3 separate regions of the Homo sapiens genome follow, and regions 2 and 3 are each linked to region 1. The links are contacts of gene promoters, found by promoter capture Hi-C in human tissues and cell types (Jung and others, 2019). All regions are on one chromosome and are shown on one strand. The core of a region is centred on a gene start or on the middle of the fragment in contact, and the rest is flanking DNA. Distances in the headings are between cores, read along the strand shown. Region 1 holds the start of TMC7 (transmembrane channel like 7). Region 2 overlaps GDE1 (glycerophosphodiester phosphodiesterase 1). Region 3 overlaps CCP110 (centriolar coiled-coil protein 110).

What was found. The method cuts DNA at HindIII sites, captures the fragments that hold promoters and counts their contacts. A contact is called where the count stands out against the background at its distance.
Region 2: a fragment that was not itself captured here is called in contact with the fragment with the promoter of TMC7 in region 1 in 1 of the 25 tissues and cell types used here (dorsolateral prefrontal cortex).
Region 3: a contact is called between a fragment that was not itself captured here and the fragment with the promoter of TMC7 in region 1, in 2 of the 25 tissues and cell types used here (dorsolateral prefrontal cortex and hippocampus).

What each region holds. Positions count from the first base shown.
Region 1 is chr16:18,982,046-18,986,936 of GRCh38, forward strand. TMC7 (transmembrane channel like 7) reads left to right here and starts at 1,889. Exons shown (of 16, transcript NM_024847.4): 1 at 1,889-2,085. The coding sequence starts at 2,019. RefSeq lists a silencer at 1,800-1,859. The HindIII fragment of the contact is 36,131 bases long and covers 1-4,891 here.
Region 2 is chr16:19,513,489-19,518,357 of GRCh38, forward strand. It overlaps GDE1 (glycerophosphodiester phosphodiesterase 1), which reads right to left. Exons shown (of 6, transcript NM_016641.4): 2 at 3,526-3,701. Among named protein-coding and RNA genes, the nearest start is that of GDE1, 6.2 kb to the right of the region's middle. The HindIII fragment of the contact is 3,843 bases long and covers 1,133-4,869 here.
Region 3 is chr16:19,530,994-19,535,897 of GRCh38, forward strand. It overlaps CCP110 (centriolar coiled-coil protein 110), which reads left to right. Exons shown (of 14, transcript NM_001323572.2): 3 at 1,423-1,551. Among named protein-coding and RNA genes, the nearest start is that of CCP110, 9.5 kb to the left of the region's middle. The HindIII fragment of the contact is 3,569 bases long and covers 1,593-4,904 here.

The DNA of each region.
Region 1 (4,891 bases), core at 639-3,138:
GGTGCCCACCACCATACACAGCTAATTTTTTGTATTTTTTTTAGTAGAGACAGGGTTTCACCATCTTGGCCAGGCTGGTCTCGAACTCCTGACCTTGCGATCCACCTGCCTTGGCCTCCCAAAGTGCTGGGATTACAGGCATGAGCCACCACACCCAGTCTCCAGCCTCCTTTTTTTTTTTTTTTAAATGACCTTGACAGTTTTGAGGAATACTAATCAGGTATTCTGTAGAATGCCCCTCAGTTGAATTTGTCTGATATTTTTCTTATGACCACAGAGGTAAAGTGCCCTTCTCATCCCATCGTAGGAAGGGTGCACACCATCCTCATGGCTTAATGTTGATGTTAACTTATTTACTTATTTACTTTTTTTTTTTGAGATGGAGTCTTACTCTGTTGCCCAGGCTGGAGTGCAGTAGTGCAATCTCGACTCACTGCAACCTCCGCCTCCTGGGTTCAAGAGATTCTCCTGCCTCAGCCTCCCTAGTAGCTGGGATTACAGGCGCCCGCCACCATGCCCAGCTAATTTTTTTGTATTTTTGGTAGAGACAGGGTTTCGCCATGTTGGCCAGGCTGGTCTCGAACTCCTGACCTCAAGTGATCCACCTGCCTCGGCCTCCCAAAGTGCTGGGATTACAGGTGTGAGCCACTGATCCCGGATGATGTTAACTTTGATCATCTGTCTGAGACAGTGTTTGTCAGGTATTATCTAATATAAAACCCACCCTCACCCTCTTCCACCACCACTTCCATACTGCACTCTTTTGGAAGGATGTCGCTATGGGCAACTCACACTTAAGGAGTAGGGAGCTAAGCTCCCCATCCTTAAAGTATCTACGTAAATGATTTCAAAATCTGCACAGGAGATTTCTCTCCATTTTCCCCATTTATTTATATTTAGCAATTACTTTTCTTTTTCTTTTTTTTTCTGAGATGGAGTCTCCTTCTGTCGCCCAGGCTGGAGTGCAGTGGCGTGATCTCGGCTCACTGCAACCTCTGCCTCCTGGGTTCCAGCGATTCTCCTGCCTCAGCCTCCCTGGTAGCTGGGACTACAGGCATGCACTACCATGCCAGGCTAATTTTGTATTTTTAGTAGAGACAGGGTTTCACCGTGTTGGCCAGGATAGTCTCGAACTCCTGACCTCAGGTGATCCTCCCGCCTCGGCCTCTCAAAGTGGTGAGATTACAGGTGTGAGCCACTGCGCCTGGCAATTTTATGTTTTTAACCTGCACACGAACAGAGGTAGAGATGAAACGAGGATATAGTGCAAAACGTAAAAGACAAACACTGCACGTGGTTTTCTCTTCACTCGGCCCTCTAGCTCCCCACCCAGAGCTACCACAGGTAGCCAGTTTTTTGCACCCTCTAGGGAGATAGCTTAGGCATTTACAAGCATGTACAAATATATTTTTTGGTTTCCTTTTTGTTCCCAAATGGTAACTTACTAGATGCACTGATTTGGAGTCTTGGGGTTTTTTGCGTGTGGACTTTTTATTTTTTAATTTTAAAGATGGGGGTCTCACTGTGTTGGCCAGGTTGGTCTCAAACTTGTGAGTTCGTGCGGTCCTCCAGCCTCGGACTCCCAAAATGCGAGGATTACAGACGTGAGCCACCACTCCCAACCAGTTATTTTTGTTATTTATTTCTTTATTAGATCAGGTTTGATTTTAGATGCAGGGGGTCCATGTGCATGTTTGTTACATGGGTGTACCGGGTCCTGGTGGAGACTGGGCTCCCAGTGCGCCCAATCTATTGTTATTTTTTAAGCTCAGTGAGACATCAGGGAGGTCGCTGCTTGTCGCCACCGCTGGATGGAGCCTTGCCGGATCTCCCGGGCTCTGCAGCCCCTCTGCGGTCCCTGATGCTCGGCTCCTCGCGGGGGCGCCCCACTCCGGCTTCTGTGATGTCAGCGCCGGAACCTGGAATCCCGGCTCCGCGAGGGAAGGCCGGGGAGGCGGCGGCGGCGGCGGCGGCTGGAGAGGGTCCTCGGCAGCCTCTGAGGAGCGCGGGGCGCGGCCATGAGCGAGTCCAGCGGCAGTGCGCTCCAGCCCGGCAGGCCCAGCCGGCAGCCGGCGGTCCATCCAGGTAGGGCGGCAGGGAGCGCGCGCGGGGACGGTGCCCCTGGGGTCCGAGGGCGCACGGAGGGAGCCGGGTGCTGGAGGCTCGGCCTGGCCGCTGTTCCCTCCCACCCCCGACGCCGGGTGCTCCCGGCTCTGGGGAACAGCAGGTGGGAAGGAGATCTTCCTTATTCCTGCTCCCTCCACAAACGCGTCCTCATCCAATCCAGTGGAACCCAGCCGGGCCAAAAGGACACGAGAACTGCAGTCTGGACCGTGGTGGGTTTGTCTTCCAGCTGTTGACCGAGACAGTCTTTCAATAGCCTCATCTGCTGTTAAATGAAAGGATTTGAGCACCCCCTCCACGCCTAACATTCTGGTATGAGGTGCCTGCCTCCCGGACATTTCAGCCTTCACATACAGTTAGACCAACTTGAAACCGAATTCTGCCTTGTCTGTTTATTGCTGTGGGACCTTTGGTAAGTGGCTTGCCTTCTCTGAGCCTCAGATCCTTCAGCAGTAAAATGGGAATAGAATGGGGCGGGGATTAGCTGAGAATCGTGTGATGTGTCTAGCACAGTGCCTGGCATTGTGGCTAGACAGTCACAATAAATGGTAGCCAGCCAAGTATTATAATCTTTTGTATCGGGTAGAATTACAGTAAAGTATACAGCTCCATGAATTTCTACAGAAATATGTACAACGGCTGCCCAGTCAGGATAAAAAAGTTGCCAGCACTCAGGCAGGGTTCCTTGTAGCATTTGGAGCTTACGAATCTTGTCCTGAACAAAACACAAGACCCTGCTGTAAAGTTTTATCTGCAATGTTTTCTCTTTTTCAGTTTTAGAATAGAGATTTACTGAAACCAAGGATGTAGGGCCGGGCGTGGTGGCTCACGCCTGTAATCCCAGCACTTTGGGAGGCTGAGGCGGGTGGATCACGAGGTCAGGAGTTCAAGACCAGCCTGGCCAAGATGGTGAAACCCCATCTCTACTGAAGATACAAAAATTAGCCAGGAGTGGTGGTGGGTGCTTGTAATCCCAGCTACTTGGGAGGCTGAGGCAGAGAATAGCTTGAACCCGGGAGGCGGAGGTTGCAGTGAGCCGAGATTGCGCCACTGCACTCCAGCCTGGGCGACAGACCAAGACTGTTTCAAAAAAAAAAAAAGAAACCAAGGATATAGAATAAAACATGAGTGTAGATTTGGTCATTGAGGCCTTCAAATTGGATTGTTCCCAATGTCCAGAAGAAAAAAAAAATTTAGAAGAGACCCAAATCAGAAAACAAAAGTTGGGGTGGATTCAATGCGAATTATTTTCTAGCTCAATATTAATACTGCTTATGTCAGCTGAATTTCAGCCTTTCAATAACAGCTAGTCAAGTATTTTTTTAGTTGGTTCCTATTAATAGTCATCTTATTTTAGTGGAATCCATTATATTGAAGATGTCAAGTTCCTCATTTCCCATACAAAGAATGTGAGATTCATCTTTCTTGCATCTTTGCTAAGTGTATGAGGGGACTTTTGGCATCTTTTCAGGAGGACTATAATTGGGCCCTCTAACTAAAAAGTCTTCTATGCCCCTTAGATAGATGAGTTTTTTTTTTTTTTTTTTGATCTTGTACCCACCAACATTGGTGGGAGGCTCAGAAGGGACTGTGTTTGTAACTTTGTAGCACTTTCTAAACAGTGACCTGTTGTATGGGCATTATAGGACAGTCCGTGGGGTGGGGCGGGGGATGGGGGAGGCGACAAATGAGGTCTGGTTTAAAGAATGAGAAGTGTGACCAGGCATGGTGACTCATGCCTGTAATCCAGCACTTTGGGATGCTGAGGCAGGAGGATCACTTGAGCCCAGGAGTTTGAGGTTACAGTAAGCTATGATTATGACACTGGGCTCCAGCCTGGGTGACAGAACTAGACCCTGTCTCTAAAAAAAAAAGAAGAGGTATGTATCCTTCTAAATGATAAAACAGATCACTCCCCTGCTTACATAAAACTTTCCGGTGGCTGGCCAGGCACAGTGGCTCACACCTGTAATCCCAGCACTTTGGGAGGCCGTGGTGGGCAGATCACGAGGTCAGGAAATCGAGACCATCCTGGCTAACGTGGTGAAATCCTGTCTCTACTAAAAACACAAAAAATTAGCCAGGTGTGGTGGCATGCACCTGTAGTCCCAGCTACTCGGGAGGCTGAGGCAGGAGAATCGCTTGAACCCGGGAGGTGGAGGTTGCAGTGAGCCGAGATTGTGCCACTGCACTCCAGCCTGGGTGACAGAGACTCTGTCTGAAAAAAAAAAAAAAAAAAAGATGGGTATGGCGGCATGTGCCTGTAATCCCAGCTACTGGGGAGCCTGAGGCAGGAGAATCGCTTGAACCTGGGAGGCAGAGGTTACAGTGAGCCGAGGTTGCACCACTGCAGTCTGCCTGGGTGACAGAGCTAGACTCTGTCTCAAAAACAGAAAAACAACTTTCCGGTGGCTTCTCACTGCTCTGAGAATAAACTCCAGGCTCTTCCATCGCAACCAACAGGATCTGGTGATTCGACCCCAGCCCCTCTTTCCAGGCCCTCATCACCTTGATCCTCCCTTAACCTATCCTGCTCTAGCTGCACTGGCTGCCTTCCTATTCCTCCAGCATACCAAGATTGTTTCTGCCTCAGGGTCTTTGCATCTGCTGTTCTCTTCGCCTGGACTCCTCTTGGTTCTTTTTTTTTTTCTTTGAGATGGAGTCTTACTCTGTCGCCCAGGCTGAAGTGCAGTGGCGCGATCTCGGCTCACTGCAAGCTCCGTCTCCCGGGTTCATGCCATTCTCCTGCCTCAGCCTCCCGAGTAGC
Region 2 (4,869 bases), core at 1,804-4,303, 530 kb after region 1:
CAGTTTTAACAGTTTTTTGGTGAAGTCTTTAGGTTTTTCTACATACAAAATCATGTTGTCAGCAAAGAGGTACAATCTGACTTCCTCTTTTTCCAATTTGGATGCCTTTTATTTCTTTCTCTTTCCTGATTGCTCTGGCTAGTCAATCATTCCATATTTAGCAAAATTGATATGAAGGTCGAAAGAATCATGGAGGAAGTAATTAACCATATTATCCAGAGTTTGCTGTACTTGGAACTGATAAAACTGAAAGTATCCAGTAAGTACAGACTAAATGTAATCATAAACTTCCCTTTTATTGCATAAGACTTTCAAACATGCTGTGGTTGCTTTTAAACACAAGTAGGTTGGGCTGTAATTGTGTAAGAAGCAACAAGTAAATGGTTTGCACAAGCACTTTTAGAAAGGTTAAGACAACTGGACCACATGGTGGTGCCCAAGACATTTTTAATTCATATCCTGGTGACAAGTGAGCATTGAAAACCCAAGACTCGTAGATGAGAAGAATTGAAGCACACAGACACCTGAGCACAGAGATTAGAGATTGATGGTCTTTGGTTTCTTATATTGTATAATGGATGTTATTTTTCTGTTTTTTGTTTTGTTTTGTTTTGATTTGTTTTCCTTTTCTGGTAATTCTGTGCTTCTGACACTAGCTATAAATTGGGGTTCCCACCTCCTCCTCCTTGGGTTCAATTAATTTGTTAGAGTGGCTTGCGGAACTCAAACACGTTTACAGGTTTATTATAAAGTATGTTACACAGCATACAGATGAAGACATGCATAGGGTGAGGTATGGGGAAAGGGGCATAGAGCTTCCATGCCCTTTCTGAGTGCTCCATCATTCAGGAACCTCCATGTGTTCAAATACAGATATTCTTGACCAAAGACCAGCAACAACAACAAAAATCATTTAATTTTTAAGAAATCACTGAATTTCTATTGAATTAATAACATTATTAATAACCCTACTTCCCAAAGGGCAGAGTATATGCCACCTTTGGAAAACTCAAAGACTTAATTTTCAGATTGTAATTTCCCTAATAGAATGCTATGCAGGAGGAATTCTTAGGAATACATAAATCTGTTAACTGTATTGTGTATTTATTTAAGTGCAACTGTTTAAAATAAATAATGTTCTAAGACATAATTTTCTGATAAAGAAAATGAAAACTAAGTGCTTGATACAAAAGAAATTAGCTTTTCTCTCATAATAAAATTATTATTTAACTTAATGCTAATTCAACTGCATTATTTCAACTGTAAGATCATGCTTTTAAAAAAGGGTAAGGATAGGCCAGGTACAGTGGGCTCATGCCTGTAAATTCAGCACTTTGGGAAGCTGAGGCAGGCAGATCACCTGAGGTCAGGAGTTCGAGACCAGCCTGGCCAACATGGCGAAACCCCGTTTCTACTAAAAATGCAAAAATTAGCTGGGTGTGGTGGCATGTGCCTGTAATCCCAGCATTCTGGAGGCTGAGGCAGGAGAATCACTTGAACCCGGGAGGTGGAGGTTGCAGTGAGCCAAGATCATGCCATTGCACTCCAAACTGGGCAACAAGAGTGAAACTCCAACTCAAAAAAAAAAAAAAAAAAGATAAGGATAATTTAAACATTACAGGCAATTATCCCAGCCATTCTAATCAATTTCTATTCCCTGAGAGTGAAAGATGGGAGACCTGAATTTGTTATTCCTTTGGCTGATCTTAGTTTCCTCCTTATCCTCCTCTCAGGACAAGCATCTCATCACACTGAGCATAATTCTAGAGAAAATATCTATTTTTTCCCACAACATAATCCGTAAACACAAGCCAATTACTTCATTTAGTTTTCAATCATAGAACACACTCTGTTCCAATAGTGGAGCAAAGACTGGTTGTGTTAAAGACACTGAGATAATATGTTGCCTTTGCTGTCTTCTTAAGGGATTTTTTGAAAATCACAATTTTTTTTCCTAGGATGCACAAATTCCAGAGAAATGGACTCAGTGCTCCCTTAAAGGATTTTTAAGGGTAATGATGACCCTAAACATTTTTGCTTTAAGTATTAACTTTGAACCTGACATTTTATTAGCTGCAATGTCATTATAATATTCAAACCAGCCTTTCCCTTGCATAAGCAGAGCAATACAGTATCTGATGACACTCAAGAACAATTCTAGCAACTTGGACTCATAATTCTCAAGTGTTACCAATATTCTTTCCTGCCTACAGTATGACTTCCTTCGGCAGACTAATGTTTTTCAGATCCTAGGAAAACAGGTCTGGATCATCTTTTAGGAAAAAGTATAACTTAACTGTTGGGTCAAATACTTAATTTTCCAAGAGAATCGATCATTGTCTGGATAATTGATATTACATGAATAACCAGTGAGCACACCCTTTTCAGTACTGCAAAGATGACAAGCAGAGAGGGATTTAAATAACCACATTCCAAAGTACAGTATATTACTCAGCATACCAATTCCAAGGGTGTTTACCGCTGTAAGTGGGGAAGAGGATGTAGGTTCTGTGATCATGTAAGTTTGAGAAAAGCTAAGTTACAAGTAAGAATCAGCTGATGTGGACTGTTTATCCACAACAGAAGTATTCAGAATACACTGTTTGATCTTACTTGAACCCTGTTTTTGCAGAACATCTTGTAAGATTAGCTCTAGTGTATATACTTTGGAAGCTACGTTTACACTCTACCAGGAAGGAATTAAATTAGACACTGAAAGAACTTTTGCTCTTACAGGGTTGAAAGACATTGGGGGCAGCTAAAAACAGCATGATTTGGACTAAAACTTGGGATAGATTCTAGTTTTGGCTTCTTTATGAACTAGTTATTTGCCCTTGAGTAAATAATTTAACTTTTCTGGGATTATATCTAAAGGCAAGATTGATCTAGATCTGTAGTATCCTATATGGTAGCCACACATGGCTATTTCAGTTTAAATTTACATTTAAATTAAAAATTCACTTCCTCGTGTCACTAGCCACATATCAAGTGCTCAATAGCCACAAGTACCTACCATATTACACAGTGCAGATATAAAATATTTCCATCATTGCAGAAAGTTCTACTGCAAAGTGCTATTCTAGATGATTTCTAGGATACTCTCTATTCCTACAATTCTGTGATTCCTCAGAAGTTTGTTATGAGGATCAGAAGAATTAAATGGGTTAAGTTAAAATGTGATATTATAATGTTACTTGAAGCTTTTAATGAATGTATAATTTGCTTCTTGGTACACCTGAAGGCAAGAAGATTGCCAAGCAATGACTTTCAGCCTCATGATTCTATGACTAGACAGTATTATCTTGACAATAATTCTGAAGCCAAATTTAGCCTCAGTGGGAAAGATTAAAAACATAATGCCAAATTTCTGTTGTTCCTGGCACTTGCTCATTACTTACAAGACCTACGTACAGTTCAAAACAAAACAAGACAACTCTCCTGGGGCAGATGTAATTAGAAGGCACCAGTGTCTGTCATTTCCAATAAAAGCTAAAAGATCTGTTTAAGTGACAATAAACTACTTACCTGAGTCTGTGGTTTGCTGCAGGATTCAGCTTCCTAATTTGTTCAAATGTCAAATCACACAATCGCCCAGTCCCATCAGTCGTCCTATCTACTGTGTTATCGTGCATTAAGACAGGAATCCCGTCAGAAGTAAACTCAATGTCCAACTCCACGCCTGTTGCTCCATTCTTAGCTGCCTTAACAAAAACATCAAGAATATTACTGTCAAATGGCCACAAACATTATTTTGCATCTAACCACCCAAAAGACCAGCAGGGCTCCTAAGACAGCTGTCCTTTTTGATTCATTTTCCTTCCACTTCCCCCACCAAACAGCAATCCTGATCTGTTTCTGTTTTCTGTGTATATAACCTTACTTCAATTCCTAACTGATGGATTCCTTAAAAACTTTAATTTTCCCACTCTTCTTACTTTCACAGTGGAAGACTAGGAGACTTCAGGAACTTATGTTTTCTCTGGATGTTTAACTATATGGGTCATCAATGGCTTATGAATACTTAGACAATTCCACTGTTTACCTACACTATTTGTTGGTACAGCAGTTCTGATGATCACCCTACGGTTGTTGATTAGTCAGATATTTCACTACTTTGGCATAAATGAGTCAGGTTTTTGTTGGTTTAATTCCACCCTCTACCACAAAGACACCACGCCTGCTTCTAGGACATATCACATTTTGTTTATGTAAGCAGCACTGGCTGTTGGCCCATAAGTTGTTAAGCTTGATGAGGTAGATTAGAATTTATCTAAAAAGAGAATTTGAACCTTAAATTACACGAGCCATGCTCCTCTGGAGACACACTATTTAATGTTTGCTTCCTTGGCTTCCTCATCACAATAAAGATGTGAAATGCTCATTACGATGAAGATTTCTTTCTTTTTTTTTTTTTTTGGAGACAGGATCTGGCTCTGTTGTTCAGGCTAGAGTGCAGTGGCATGATCTCGGCTCACTAAAACCTCCGCCTCCTGGGTTCAAGCCATCCTCCCACCTCAGTCTCCCAAGTAGCCGGGACTACTGGCACGTGCCACCATGCCCAGCTAATTTTTGTATTTTTTGTAGAGATGGGGTTTCACCATGTTGTCCAGGCTGGTCTCGAACTCCTGAGATCAAGCAATCCTCCTGCCTCAGTCTCCCAAAGTGCTGGGATTACAGGTGTGAGCCACTGTGCCCAGCTATGATCAAGATTTTTAATTTTTTAAAAAATATTTTAAGTCATGGTCTATTGCAAACATCTACAGTAAAAAAGATTTAACATATGTGAATATTTTGACCTAATTTCCTCAGTCTCTTTCTGTACTAAAACAAAAACAAAAACAAAAACTATTATTTATTGAGCCTTTTCTA
Region 3 (4,904 bases), core at 2,127-4,626, 550 kb after region 1:
TAATGTTTAGTTGCCCTCTATTAGTGATGTTTAGTTTGAACACTTGCTTACAGTAGTGACTGCCAGATGGCTCTTTAAAGTACACATTTTCTCCTTTTGATTAGCAAGTAAATTGTATAATCATTCTTTGGTACCATGCAATTAGGAAAAAGTTTTAAAACAACATATTTATCAGCTATTTGATAACACATTGCTTGATTTAATGTGGACCAAAATGTCTGAGGCTTGTTGTGTAGGGTCTATGACTCCGTCTGTTATTTATTTATAAGCAAAATGTGATGTTTATGGACCTAATCCACACTTTTATGTTGTATTTGATAGGTGAATATTGCAACTTTTGAAATAATTTTTTAATGATATATTTTCTATTTGTGTAAGTCTACGATAAGTCTTGACTGTTAACAGTGATTTAATTTCCCAGGACTTAATAATTAAGATTGAAATCCATTATAAAGAGATACAATGCTTAGAAGCCTTCCATTTTTTAGGTACATTATATTTTTATCAGAAGGTAGAGTGAGGTGAAAGAAAAGATGTATTCTGCTTTTGTAGGCAAATAATATATTATCTGTTTATTTTATCATTAAACCTTTGGACATTTTTTGAGGCAGCAAAGAGTTAAATTGTGCACTGGTTAGAAAATTAAAAGTTGTAGAATCCAGTTGATCCAGTGAAATAAGATACTGAAGATGGGCCAGGCGCGGTGGCTCGCGCCTGTAATCCCAGCACTTTGGGAGGCCGAGGTGGGCAGATCACAAAGTCAGGAGTTCGAGACCAGCCTGACCAACATGGTGAAACCCCATCTCTACTAAAAATACAAAAATTAGCTGGGCGTGGTGGCACGCGCCTGTAAGCCCATCTACTCCGGAGGCTGAGGCAGGAGAATCGCTTGAACCCAGGAGGCGGAGGTTGCAGTGAGCCGAGATCGCACCACTGCACTCCAGCCTAGGTGACAGAGCAAGACTCCATCTCAAAAAAAAAAAAAAAAGGATACTGAATGTGAAGTAATATTCAAGTCAATATTCAAGTGAAGTAATAAAAAACTCAGCAGTGGCCAAAAGGGCCTTAATTTTATTTCTGTCATTTTAGAACATTTGATTAGTGAACAAACTTTTTTCTTTTTAACCTTTTAACTGAAAATAATTTACACATAGCAAAATGCACAAATCTTAAGTGTTAAAGTTCCATGAGTTTTGATATATGGCATACACATGTATAACTCACACCCACACAGGATTTTCTTCACCATGGAAAGATCTCTAATGCCCCATCCCACTCAGTACCCAGACCATTGTTCTGATTTCTTTCACTATACATTAGTTTTGCCTGTTGCACATGTTTTTAATCTTTCTGATTCACAACTTCCCGATTTTATGATATTTTTATCGTGGGAAATAATTACATTTTTATGATGTTTTGCAGCTTAACATTGAGAAAAGAAAGGAAATGCAACAAGAAAAGCAGAAAGCACTTGATGTAGAAGCAAGAAAGCAGGTTAACAGGAAGAAAGCTTTACTGACTCGTGTCCAGGAGATTCTTGACAATGTTCAGGTGTGTGATTTTAGCTGTTTCAGTTATAATAAAGAAATCATAAGATAAGCGTTGATGATAATTTTTCTGAAATATATTTGCACTTAACTAATTACTAATGTACTTTACTGTTACGTTTGAGAAGCTTCATAATTTGTGATTTTCCATTTCAGTTACTCCAAAGAGAATGTACTTGCTTGTTAGTAATGCCCAGTACTTGAATCAGAGGATATTTACACAATAGAACCATACACTGAATATAATTGCTTATTGTTTGCATCTTATGACTCTAAAAACATTGAATTCTCAGTGACAAAATGACAGAATTGGGTATTATTGTTTACCCCAAACTAATTAGACTATTGACTAAATGACCTTATTCTCATTCTTTGCTTAAGTAAATAACTGCCTCCAATTTTTTTTTGGTGAAAACTCTTAGATACACAAAATGCAGTTTAGATAACATTGAATTGTTTAGATGCATCCTATGTCTAAAAACTATTTAAACAACACATCTACACCTTGTGCAGTTATTTTTAGATTTGTATAAACAATTTGTTCTGACATGTGGATCATTTTGTACTAAAAAGAAAAACAAATGAATTAGATTGAACGAATAATTTCTACAACATATAGCAGTGTTCTGCTGGTAACATCTTTTTGTTTTTTCATAATCTTAGGAGTTTGTGGTTTGTCTGTTTAATTCGTATCGATGACACGTGTATAATGAACCTTAAGGGTTCATTTCTCTGTTGGTAGTGTAAACTGAAGAAAATGACTGAGGCAAGTCTCAATCGATTTAGAGGTTTGTTTTGCCAAGGTTGAGGATGTGCCAAGGAAAAAGAGACAAAAGTTACAGTAGAATCTGTGGCTTATGCTTTTCCAGAAGAGGTTTTGAGGACTTCAGTGTATAAAGGGGAGAGAACAGCAGGAGGGGAAAGAGGAAAGAAAAAAAAAGGAGGGTAGGTAATGAGATAAGCGATCACATTTTTGTGAGGCTTTGATTAGCACTCACTGAATCCACAAGTCGCATGAGAAAGGTGGGGGTAGAGGAACAGTCAGTTATGCATTCATCTCAAGCTCAATAAATCTGCATTTTACATAGGATAAAGTAAGCAGAGTAGAGGAAGAAGTCAAATATACATTTGTCTCCAAAGGGATGATTTCTAGTCATCTTTGGTCTTTGTCCGTATCTTGTCAGAGTGAAATTCAGCAGAACTCTGGGTTGGTGTAAAGATTTTGGGGCCTACGAGGAATTTCCTTGTGAGCAATTTGCAAGAGAGTCTACCTGGGTAGATAGGTGGCCTTCTATTTTGCAGCTATCTGTTTAGGAATAAAAGGAAGGCAGTTTTTGTGTGACTCAGTTCCTAAGCTTTACTTTTTCCTTTGACATGTGATTTTCCATTTCAGTTACTCGAAATCCCTATGTAATGAGTCTTCAGAATCTGATGAAAAAGTCAAAGGAATATATAGAAAGAGAACAATCTAGACGCAGGCTGAGAGGTAGTATTAAGAGAATTGTTAATGAGAGTCATAGTGACTCTCATGTGACATAGTTGAGTTTGGGGTCCTGAGATATTATTTCCCTTTCACAGTAGTATATAGTGTGTGGGTAGTAGATTTCATTTTGCAGATTATAATTACTGTCCATATTAAGTTTAAAAAATGTATTGAGTAGCACTAATTTAACAATAAGAGGTAGGTTTTTTACTTACTACGTATTTCCTGTGATTGAAATGAAAATGGCATATCATTCTTGGTCCATTGAGGGAAGATAAAATATACTACTAATAAAATTGTTAAAAGAGCATGTATAATGTTGAACTGTAATGAATTAATTATTCAGATAGGAAAATTTTATATAATACAATTAGATTTCTGCTTCACCTGTAAAACCTAAGATTCTATGATAGATTTTTTTCTTGTTGTTATTTAACTTGTCTAACTAAAGGCTCATTTTAGTGACGTATAAACAACATAGCTTCCGAATATCACAAATGTGAAATATTTTACGTAAGGAAATCATCTGTTTTACTTAAACCTGTGAACATGTTCATGGATTTCATAAATATGCATCCTTTTTGTTTTATTTTGGTCCTGAGGCTGTGACTAAGTATGTCTTGTACTCTTGTACTGTTGATTGCATAGTACCTGGAAACCTTTTTGCATCTTTTTTGTTTTATTTTGGTTCTGAGGTTGTGACTAAGTATGTCTTATTGTACTGTGTATTGCATAGTACCTGGAAACCATTACCTGTCTTGGGATTTGTAACGTAAAATAGGAGAGCCATGTGGTCTAGAAAAAAACAAGCACATTCAAAACAACCAAAAAATATTGTAATATTCAGACTTTTTTTTTTTTTTTTTTTTTTTTCTGAGATGGAGTCGCGCTCTGTCGCCCAGGCCGGAGTGCAGTGACGTGATCTTGGCTCACTGCAAGCTCCGCCTCCCAGATTCATGCCATTCTCTTGCTTCAGCCTCCTGAGTAGCTGGGACTACAGGTGCCCACCACCAAGCCCAGCTAATTTTTTGTATTTTTAGTAGAGATGGAGTTTCACTGTGTTAGCCAGGATGATCTTGATCTCCTGACCTCATGATCCGCCCGCCTCGGCCTCCCAAAGTGCTGGGATTACAGGCGTGAGCCACCATGCCCCGCCAGTAGTCAGGCTTTTGATGTCTGTATTCATATGATAATACAATGATTTTTGCCAGTTTAATATACGGATGTATAATTACCTTTAGAAACTATCCTAGTTCTCTTTTTATTCTTTTGCAAAGTTGGATTATTTAGATACAAAATATCTATTTTTACATTCATTCATTCATTCATTCATTCATTTTTGAGACAAAGTTTAGTTAAACTTTGGAGTAAGCATGTAGGTGCAGGAGTCTTATTACTGAATCATTTTTGCTTAATCAATGTCCTGGACAAGTTAGTCTTTGTTAGAGAGGGAATCGTTTACGTAAGACATTTCATTACTTGCTGTTTATTGCATATATTATTATCCTTGGATGATAGCTATCCTAGGAGGAACAGTTGGTAATGTTAATAACATATGACTAGAAGAAATTTAAGTGCTTGTATTCTAAGATTAAATTGCACATGGATATATGAATATATGTGTGTGTGTATACACATATATATGTTCATATTTGTATCAGATTAGATGTTTCTTTTTATAACTCTTTTATAACTCTTTTAATAACTTAGGCAGGATGACCAGTAGGCATCTTTTCAATAATAATTTGAGCCCCCTGTGATACAGGATACCGTAGAAACCTGTCATCTTAGTTTTTCTTTATGTTTTGAAATGTCAGAATTCTGAATTTTCAATTTCAATTTTATTTTAGAAAACAGTGAAATCAGAGACTTTT